Regions from separate parts of the Homo sapiens genome. Here region 2 is linked to region 1. Evidence: promoter capture Hi-C in 16 types of primary human blood cells and fetal thymus (Javierre and others, 2016). All regions are on one chromosome and are shown on one strand. Each heading gives the region's core, a stretch centred on a gene start or on the middle of the fragment in contact. The rest is flanking DNA. Distances are from core to core; before and after follow the strand shown.

What was found. The method cuts DNA at HindIII sites, captures the fragments that hold promoters and counts their contacts. A CHiCAGO score of 5 or more calls a contact.
Region 2: a contact is called between a fragment that was not itself captured here and the fragment with the promoter of RPL38 in region 1, in 2 of 17 cell types (erythroblasts and megakaryocytes). The highest score is 6.7, in erythroblasts.

Annotation. Positions count from the first base shown.
Region 1 is chr17:74,201,049-74,206,279 of GRCh38, reverse strand. RPL38 (ribosomal protein L38) reads right to left here and starts at 2,602. Exons shown (of 5, transcript NM_000999.4): 1 at 2,535-2,602; 2 at 2,322-2,362; 3 at 2,090-2,150. The coding sequence starts at 2,324. RefSeq lists enhancers at 846-1,349, 1,350-1,854, 2,863-3,366. The HindIII fragment of the contact is 15,941 bases long and covers 1-5,231 here.
Region 2 is chr17:74,291,108-74,296,338 of GRCh38, reverse strand. It overlaps DNAI2 (dynein axonemal intermediate chain 2), which reads right to left. Exons shown (of 14, transcript NM_023036.6): 6 at 5,206-5,231. Among named protein-coding and RNA genes, the nearest start is that of DNAI2, 19 kb to the right of the region's middle. The HindIII fragment of the contact is 4,296 bases long and covers 1-4,102 here.

The DNA.
Region 1 (5,231 bases), core at 1,353-3,852:
AGACAGGGTCTCACTATGATGCCCAGGCTAGTCTCATCCATCTGCCTCAGTCTCCCAAAGTGCTGGGATTACAGATGGGAACCACCATACCCAGTGTAAATGGTAACTTTTACGCTATGCCTATTACACGTTAAAAATTAATACAACCATTTTAAAAAGTTTTTTCAACAAACAGCTACTGACACTTTACTGTCCCCAGGGGACTGTGACCACTACCTTTAAAGCCACATCATCTAAAATGAAGGTTCCCAATTTTTTTTGTGAGACAGTCTCGCTCTGTCACCCAGGCTGGAGTGCAGTGAGACAATCTCAGCTCACTGCAACCTCCGTCTCCTTGGTTCAACTGATTCTCCTGCCTCAGCCTCCTGAGTAGCTGGGACTGCAGGCGTGTGCCACCATGCCTGGCTAATTTTTTTATTTTTAGTAGAAATGGGGTTTTGCCATGTCGCCCAGGTTGGTCTTGAACTCCTGGTTCAAGCGATCTGTCCGCTTTGGCCTCCCAAAGTGCTGGAATTATAGGCATGAGCCACCACGCCCGGACCACCACCCTTTTAAAACACAATCAAACGGTGGTGTCGTGTTTAACTTGCTGAGAAGGGTAAGTTACCTGCAGGTAGAGTTGGGCTTCAAACTAGGCAGTGACCCCATATGGTCTGAAATAAAACTGACCTGATAACCTCATCTCTTTACACAAAACACTAGCCAACAGTCATCATTCCCACCAGATGCTATTTGTCCCCACAGGTGGTCACTACCTCAAAGGTGACAGCCTGTTTTGGGTAATGGGGACACAAATATGACCCCCATCTCTGCCTACCCCCAACTCATTGAAAGACTCTCCCTGTACACCAACCACCGTCTGGCACCACGGCTGGCAGAGCATTAGAGACGGCTGGTGTCTTAGCCCACCTTAACAGGCCTGTCCCATGCAACCTCACTTCCACATGTGACCTGATTCTCAGTCAGCTGAAAAAAGATGACTGGGTTAAAGTAACAACATAACTCAAGACCTAGCTTGTATCAAACACAAGCCCCCCCAATCTCCTTCAAGTATCACAAAGGAGTAACACAACTACCTCTCACACTTGGTGTAAAAATTTAAGTAAGTGGGCAGCAGAGATTGGCACCTATCCATCGAAAACCTGCTGTTTAAGGTTTTTCATTAATCACCTTCTTTCCCCTGTATGTACAAGCTGGGAAACAGACCTATGACAGTCCAACTTAAACTCTGTGACTTTACAATGGTGGTAATGCGATATACATTCAGTAGAAGCCCTGCTTCAAATTTTGATCTTGGCGGGGCACAGTGGCTCACACCTGTAATCCCAGCACTCTGGGAGGCGGAGGCAGGTGGATCATCTGAGGTTAGGAGTTCGAGACCAGCCTGGCCAACATGGTGAAACTCTGTCTCTACCAAAAACACAAAAATCAGCTAGGCATGGTGGCGCGCCCAGCTACTTTGAGGCAGGGGGATCGCTTGAACCTGGGAGGCGGTAATTGCAGTGAGCCAAGATCGCACCACTGCAATCCAGCCTGGGCGACAGAGCCAGACTGTCTCAAAGAAAAAAAAAAATTTTTTTAAATATTTTTCTGGATTAGATAGGTATGATACCTTCTGACACTGGCCAGCGACCACAGGATCACGAGGTAAACGACCATACTACACAGTGTGCCGTGCTCGATACATTACATGCAAATATCCAGCACTTTATTACAAAATGGATTTTGTGTTAAGATTTTGCACAACTGCAGAGAACCTAAACAGTGTTTATGGGACGTGTGTTTTGAGGCTTTCGCGGAGTGGAGATTCCGTTCCGACAATTTACTATATTATACGAAAGAAAACTGAACTCAGGGCGGCCTCTGAGATGATCGCGATTAGCTAAAGATGGTCCTAGAAATTCCAGGGCCTCAACGTGCCCCCCACAGGTCTTTCTCATGGGAAACAGGATGAAACCACTGCTCCCAGAGGGCCAGGCACACACCCAGACGGCCTAACCGTCTCCTGCCTGACATTCCGGGGAAGACGCTCCCGGAGCGGTGCCAGGCTAGGCACCGCTCTTCTTGAACCTTCGGAGCAACCACTTACATTTGGCATCCTTTCGTCGGGCTGTGAGCAGGAAGTCCTTGATTTCCTCAATTTTCCGAGGCTGCAACACAAAGGAAGCGGGTGAACAGAGAGGAAAGAGACACGTCTCCCGGCGATGGCCCAGTCCACCAGCTTCTCCCGGCCTCAGGAGATCCTTGGGAGGCTCTCTCGCCCTCGCCCCGGGGCCCCACGAGCCCACCCCGGGAAGGCGCCAGGCAGGGACTGTACTCACCATGGCGACGAGGCGCGCTGGGCTCTGGCGCGGACCAGGACCTGCGGGAAACAGTCCTCGGCGTTAACACGGCGCGGGGGCTGGCAGCGAACCCCGTTTTCCCGCTCTCCCCCGAAATATCGGCCCCATCGCACTCCCCTTCTCCTCCCCGACACCCTCCACGCGGACCTGGGGTCCCCAGATTTCACCTGGCAGTGGATTGCCCCAGATTACCTTTCTCACCCACGTATCACCCTAGAGACACTCACAGCAAGCAGCAACCGGGGAAAAGGACGAAAAAGAACGAGACTTCCGTTTCCGGGCAGTTAAACCCTCCCAACGGAGGAAACTGGGTACGGTGCCTGCCGAGGATCAAGACTCATGTAGGCGTTCGCACTTCCAATTTCAGCAGCCCTGCCCCCTTGTGGTCGAAGTCAACAGTGCAGCTCCAAGAATGGAATGGACCATCCTGGCTGCCGCCCTCCCTCCGCCTCCCTCCTCTCGCTCCTCCCCATCCCTTCCTCCTAGGACCCCCGCCTCTTCCCCGTCCACCCCTTCCTGTCTTCCCCCGCAACCCCTCAGACCCCAGCCTGGCTTTGCTAGGTTTTAGCTCAGATTCAGTTTGAAGAGCTAACGCTTATTCTCCACGGCTTTCATTGGACCTGCGCAGGGGCATCCACACAGAAAATTCTTCATTCAATGGCAGGGACCCTCGTGTGCACCTTGTAGAACCTGTTGTTCTGGCGCCTCACGTTTTCTTCCCGTCTCCTTTTTGGCACCTGAACCTGTCATGACCAGGGCCCTGGGCTCTTCTTTCCATAAGAGGGAGCGTTCCTGCTTGCTGCTTCCAATTCCCTTAGGAATTGGTGTACAATGAAAGCAAGTTAAGGCCGGGCGCGGTGGCTCACGCTTATAACCCCAGCACTGGGGGAGGCCGAGGCAGGCGGATCGCTTGAGGCCAGGAGTTCGAGAGCAGCCTGGGCAACCTAGTAAGACCTCCCCCCCCCCATCTCTAGCAATAATGATAATAATAATAATACTTCCAAAAGCTGTCGCAGCGCTGCCCCTGGCTAAGTGTCTCACCCCTAGGGCTGATGGTGAGTGGGAGTGCTCCTGCTCTTGCGGGGTCTCACCGCGGCCCCAGAGGGGAGAGGTGGACTCAGGAGTTGAACCCCTGCTGGGCAGATTCCCCAGCCCAGGCTCCGGCCACTTCCTGGGGAGGCTTGGGAAGCCTGGGGAGGGCAGCGTTCCTTTCTCCCCCTAACATCCTTTAGGTTAGACTCTGAGCAACCTGCGGTTATCGATTTTATTTTTATCCTCCATTTTTATTTTATCTCCAACCTCCCTACAAATGTCTACATTTTATTATATTTGTTTCCCCAAAATTTAATAACCACACGGCAGAATGTAATTGCTTCGTGCTTATTATTACAGAGCGGCCCTCCTGAAGGGAAAGAACACTTTGCCATGAGCTTTACTTAGAACTTATTTAACTTAACCTTCCTTTCTTCCTCCCTCCTGCCCTTCCATTAACAAGCTCAGGCTGAGCACCTTCCTGGGGGTGCTGGAGATACAGGAACCAATAGACCTTGCTGCAGAGAGATCACAAAAATATTGTAATAACACTGAAGAGTCTTTTAAAGAAGCTGAACGATGTCTCTGCAACTGTAAATGTGTCGGGGTTCTAGCAGTGGGAAAAGTTAATTGGCAGAAGCCTAATTTTAGATGTCTGAAGGTCGGATCCGATCTGAGAAGCACGAGTGCTTCAGCTCTGACCTGAGAAGGATTTTCCCATACCTCAGAGCCCGGCTTTGCCAGCCCTTCCCATCTCAGGCGATGCCTTTCTGGTCTTTTCTACCCCACTGCTCCTCCACAAGCAACCACCCTTTCAGCCAAGCCGAGGGGCACTTTTGGGCACTTTCTGCCCTCCAGGTATTTGCTCTGCTGTCCACTCTGATGCCAAGTGCCACTGGTCCTTCCGAGCTCAGCTCCCGCCTCCCCTTTTTCAGGCAGGACCCTTCACCCTTGACTTATGTTGCTTGCCGCTCATACAGTGGTTCCTTGCAATCACTTCTCCGTAGGCTGCGTGGAGGTGTTTAACTTTTCATACATGCGCACCACTCTTTTTATTTTTAATTTTTTAAAACTTTTTTAGAGACATGGTCTCCCTAGGTTGCCCAAGCTGGTTTCGAACTCCTGGGCTCAAGGGATCCTCCTGCCTCGGCCCCCCAAAGTGCTAGGATAACAGGTGTGAGCCACTACGCCCCACCTTACCACTTTTCCTTGAAGGCAAGGACAGGGCTCAGCATTCTGTCGATAACTCTCGAAGTGCAGTACCCATCTGTACAGTAAGTGCTCAATGCTAACATTGCAGGATGATCCGGCTGGATGCGGCATCTGAGATCACTCACCATATAAAGGGGTGGTGGATGGAGGGAGGAATTCAGGGAGAGCCAGAAGGAGACACTGACGTGCCTGAAGCAGTGCCTGGCATGTAGTAGGTCCAAAAACTATTTGTTGAATGAATGACTGGTGCTTCTTGCCTCACTGCCGGCCCGACAGGACAAGGACGGGGATAGAAGGAGGAGCTGCACCTCCCTTTTGGCAGCGATCCCAGGGAGACAGATGTTCACCCTCTTGAGTTGTATAATTTAAGGGACCATAGACGTGTAGTAGCAAAACACAATGGCAAATTTGTTCAAGTACCAAAGACCTCCAGCTCCCCAAGGGGGACAAATAGCAAAATAAGCTGCAGCTACTAAAAGTGAGGCAAGGTGCCCAGAGGGCACGCTTCCCTGCTCCATGGGAAGATGAGCCCCAAATGTCCTGGAGTGGCCGGGGACTGTCAGAGACCAAGGGGGGCAGAGCCTAGGCCCTGAGTGCCACAGCCTGAGACCTTGAGCAGATGCTGACCTGGACATGAGCCTCCCT
Region 2 (5,231 bases), core at 705-3,204, 91 kb before region 1:
CTCTCCTCTCTCTCTCTCTCTCTCTCTTTAAAGGCAAGATCTCACTATGCTGCACAGGCTAGTTTCAAACTCCTGAATGCAGGCGATCCTCCCGCCTCAGCTTCTCAAAGTGTTAGGATTACAGACGTGAGCCACTGTGCTCAACTTCTATTACATTTAAACAACAAAAGTAAATAAGTAAAAGGAAAAGCTGAAGCATGATGTGTCCACAGGGCTTTGAAAAGATCTGACATATTCCTGGGAGTCTAGAAGGTCACAAGCATGGATAGAGCTGTGTGCACGCCCAGAGCTGTGTCATGCTCAGGAAAACCGATAAAGCCCTAAACTCTCTGGCTGACCTCATCTCTGCACAGACACTAAGGCAGAGTTGACAACTGCCTGGCTGAGTGTAAAGGCATGCTCACACACGCACACAGAGCCCCTTAGCAGAGAAGGGGAGATTTTTTGGTGACAAATGCTTAAGGAAATCTTTGTTCAATCATTAACTAATCACTAAGCTAAGCAGAGACTATAAGTGGTCACACGTGACAGGGAATACAGACTTTCCAGAACTAGCTAAGAAAATGTATTAATGAAACAAAGAACAACTACAACAAACAGCAACAACACAAACTCTGGGAGGTATGTCAATCTGATTTGCAAAGTTGCCACATTAAATCATACAAAAAGTATAGTTTTTAATAAAAAAAAAATTATAAGACATGCCAAGAAATACAAATGTATGGCCCAAACACAGGAATAAAAAAGCAATAAATAGAGATTGTCCCCAAGAAGCCCAGATATTGGACTAACTAGACAAAGGCCTCACATCAGCTATGCTAAACATGTTCAAAGAACTAAAGGAAGTCACATCAAAAGAACTAAAGAAAAGCATGAGATGATCTCTCACCAAATAAAAGATACAAATAGACAAAAATCATTATCATTATTATTTTTGAAGACAGAGTTTCGCTTTGTTGCCCAGCCTGGAGTGCAGTGGCACAATCTCAACTTACTGCAACCTCTGCCTCCTGGGTTCAAGCAATTCTCTTGCCTCAGCCTCCCAAGTAGCTGAGATTGCAGGTGCACTCCACCTCACCTGGCTGATTTTTTTTTTTTTTTTTTTAAGTAGAGATGGGGTTTGACCATGTTGCCCATGCTGGTCTTGAACTCCTGAGTTCAGGTAATCCACCCACCTCAGCCTCCCAAAGTGCTAGGTTTCCAGGCACGAGCCACCACATCCAAATGAGACAGAAATTATTTTTAAAAGAAAGAACAAAATAGAAATTCTGGAGTCATTAACCAAAATAAAAATATAGCAGAGAAGCTACAGGATGGCATATTTGAGCAGGCAGAAGAATCACTGAACGTGAAGATGGGTCAATTGAGATTATGTAGTCTGAGGAATAGAAAGAAAAGAGAACAAAGAAAAACAGAGTCTAAAGACCTATGGGACACCATCAAGCATGCCAACATACACATAATGGAAGTCACAGAAGGAGAGGAGAGAGAGAAAGGGTAGGAAAGAATATTTGAATAAATAATGGTTGTAAATATTCCATATTTGATTTTTAAAAAAATAATCTACACATCCAAGAAACTCAATGAATTCCAAGTGGGATAAACTCAAAGATATCCATACCTAGAAACATCATAATCAAAGCTGAAGACAGAGACTCTTGAAAGCAGCAAGAGAAAAATGACTCATCACATACACAGGATCATCAATAAGATCAATAGCTTAAGTTGAGTGTGGTGGCTCACGCCTGAAATCCCAGCACTTTGGGAGGCCAAGGTGGGAGAATTGCCTGAGGCCAGGAGTTCAAGACCAGCCTGGGCAACATAGCAAGACCCTATCTCTACAAAAATTAAAAAATAAAAAAGTAGCTGAGTGTGGTGACGTGCACCTGTTGTCCCAACCACTCAGGAGGCTGAGGTGGGAGGATTGCTTGAGCCCAGGAGTTTGAGGCTGCAGTGAGCTATGATCACAGCACTGCGCTCCAGCTTGGGTGACAGAGTGAGACCTTGTCTCTAAAAAAAAAAGAAAAGAAAAAAAAAAAAGAAATGATAAGGGAATTAAAATGGTACACTAGAAAATACGTGGCACAAAAGAAGGCAGTTATGGAGAAAGAACAAAAAGATGTAAGACATATAGGAAAAAAAAGCAAAATGGCAGATGTAAACTTTATCAGTAATTAAATTAATGTAAATAGATTAAACTCTCCACTTAAAACCAGAGATAGATAGAATAGATTAAAAGGAAAAAACCACGATCCAAGCTGGGCGTGGTGGCTCATGCCTGTAATCCCAGCACTTTGGGAGGCCGAGGTGGGCATATCGCTTGAGGCCAGGAGTTCGAGATCAGCCTGGCCAACATGGTAAAACCTCATCTCTCCAAAACTACAAAAATTAGCTGGGCGTGGTGGCATGCACCTGTAATCCCAGCTACTCGGGAGGCTGAGGCAGGAGAATCGCTTGAACCCAGGAGGCGGAGGTTGCAGTGAGCCGAGATCACGCCACTGCACTCCAGCCTGGGTGACAGAGTAAGACTCTGTCTCAAAAACAAAACAAAACAAAACTATGATTCACTTGTATGCCAGCTACATGTAATCTACAAGAGACATACTTTATTTTTTTATTTTATTTTTATTTTTTTGAGATGGAGTCTCGCTCTGTCACCCAGGCTGGAGTTCAGTGGCATGATCTCGACTCACTGCAATCTCAGCTTCCCAGGTTCAAGCGATTCTCGTGCCTTAGCCTCCCAAGTAGCTGGGATTACAGGTGCGTGTCACCACACCTGGCTACAAGACATACTTTAGATTCAAAGAGGCAAACAGGTTAAAAGTAAAAGGATGGGGAAAGATATACCATGCAAATGGTAACCAAAGAGGGCTGGAGTGCTTATCTCAAAGACAGACTTTGAGATGAAAAATGCTACTAGAGACAAATGAAGACATCATATACTGATAAAAGGGTTAATTCACTAGGAAAACTTAACAATTATAAGCATGTGCATGTACCTAATAACATAGCCTTAACATACAGGAAGCAAAACCTGACAAAATTGAAGGAGAAATAGACAATTCAACAATAATAATGGCAGACATCAGTATCCTACTTTCAATAATAGACATAATTACTACGTGAAAGATCAACAAGGAAATAGAAGTCTTGACCAACACTATAGACAAGACCTCCCAGACAACTATAGAAAACTCCACTGGACAGGCCAGGTGCGGTGGCTCACGCCTGTTATCCCAGCACTTTGGGAGGCCGAGGCGGGCGGATCACGAGGTCAGGAGATCGAGACCATCCTGGCTAACACGGTGAAACCCCGTCTCTACTAAAAAAAAATACAAAAAATTAGCCCAGCGTGGTGGCAGGCACCTGTAGTCCCAGCTACTCGGAAGGCTGAGGCAGGAGAATGGCGTGAACCCAGGAGGCAGAGCTTGCAGTGGGCCAAGATCGCGCCACTGCACTCCAGCCTGGGCGAAAGAGCAAGACTCCGTCCCAAAAAAAAAAAAAGGAAAACTACACCGGACAATAAGCAGAATATAGTCTTCTCAAGTGCTCATGGAACATTCTCCAGGATAGACAATATGCTAGGCCATAAAACAAGTCTCAATAAATTTTAAAAGACTGAAATCAGGCCAGGTGTGGTGGTTCATCCCAGCACTTTGGGAGGCCAGCCAAGGCAGGCGGATCCCTTGAGCCCAGGAGTTTAAGACCAGCCTGGGCAGCATGATGAAACCTTGTGACTAAAAAAACTACAAAAATTAGCCGAGTGTGGTGGCACATGCCTGTAGGCTCAGCTACTCGGGAGGCTGGGGTGGAAGAATTGCTCGGGCCCAGGAGGTCGAGGCTGCAATGAGCAGTGATTACACCACTGCACTCCAGCCTGGGCAACAGAGTAAAACTCTGTCTCAAAAAAAAAAAAAAAAAAAGAAAAAGAAAATGATTATAAGGGAATACTGTGAACAATTAAATGTCAACAAACTAGACAACTTGATGAAATGGAAAAGTTCCTAGAAAGACAGAAACTACCAAAAGCAATTAAAGAAGAAACAGAAAATGTGAAGAGGATCTATAACAAATAAACAGACTGAATTGTAACTTTTAAGCTTCCAATAAAGAAAAGCCAGGGACCAGATGGCTTCACTGATGAGTTCTACCAAACATTTCAAGAATTAATAGCGGCCAGGCATGGTGGCTCACGCCAGTAATCCCAGTACTTTGGAAGGCCAAGGAGGGAGGATCACTTGAGGTCAGGAATTTGAGACAAGTCTGGCCAACATAGTGAAACCCTAACTCTACTGAAAAAAGACAAAATTAGCCAGGCGTGGTGGCATGAGCCTGTAGTCCCAGCTACTCAGGAGGCTGAGGCAGGAGAATCACTTGAATCCGAGAGGTGGAGGCTGCAGTGAGCTGAGACTGCACCACTGCACTCCGGCCTGGGCGACAGAGCGAGACTCCATCTCAAAAAAAAAAAAAATTAATATCAATTCTTCACAAACTTCCAGAAGGGAATACTTCCCAACTCATTCTATAAGGCCAGTATTACCCATATCCGTTAGCATGTAGGTTTCCCAGAAACCTCTCCCAAAATAGGGCTCCCCAACGCTCTCATCATCCCTTTATGGCGGCCCCTAGTCAAATATTCTCTGATTTTACTTGAACTATAGTTTTTTAAAACTGTTTATTTTGAGCTAATTTTAGACTTACAGTAGTAACAGGAGACACTGCTGAGGTGTCAGCCAAACCTGCCTCACCCGTGTCTGCAGTTGGTCAGCTATGGGAGGCCCTCACCCCACTTAGTCTTCTGTGGCCGAGCCCAGGCTGCCATGTGGGCTCTGCCCTATAGCAGCAGGATTGGCTCTGACTATGAATCTGGGTCCCGGCCAGGTGTGGTGGCCCACACCTGTAATCCCAGCACTTTGGGAGGCCCAGGTGGGTGAATCACCTGAGGTCAGGAGTGCGAGACCAGCCTGGCCAACATGGTGAAACCCTGTCTCTACTAAAAATAACAAAAAAATTAGCCAGGTGTGGTGGTGGGTGCCTGTAATCTCAGCGACTCGGGAGGCTGAGGCAGGAGAATCACTTGAACCCAGGAGGCGGAGGTTGCAGTGAGCCAAAATTGCACCACTACACTCCAGCCTGGGAAACAAGAGCAAAATTCCATCTAAAAAAAATAAAAATAAAAATAAAAAAGCCTAGGTCCCTCCTTACCTATCTGTCCATTGTAGCAGCCACCC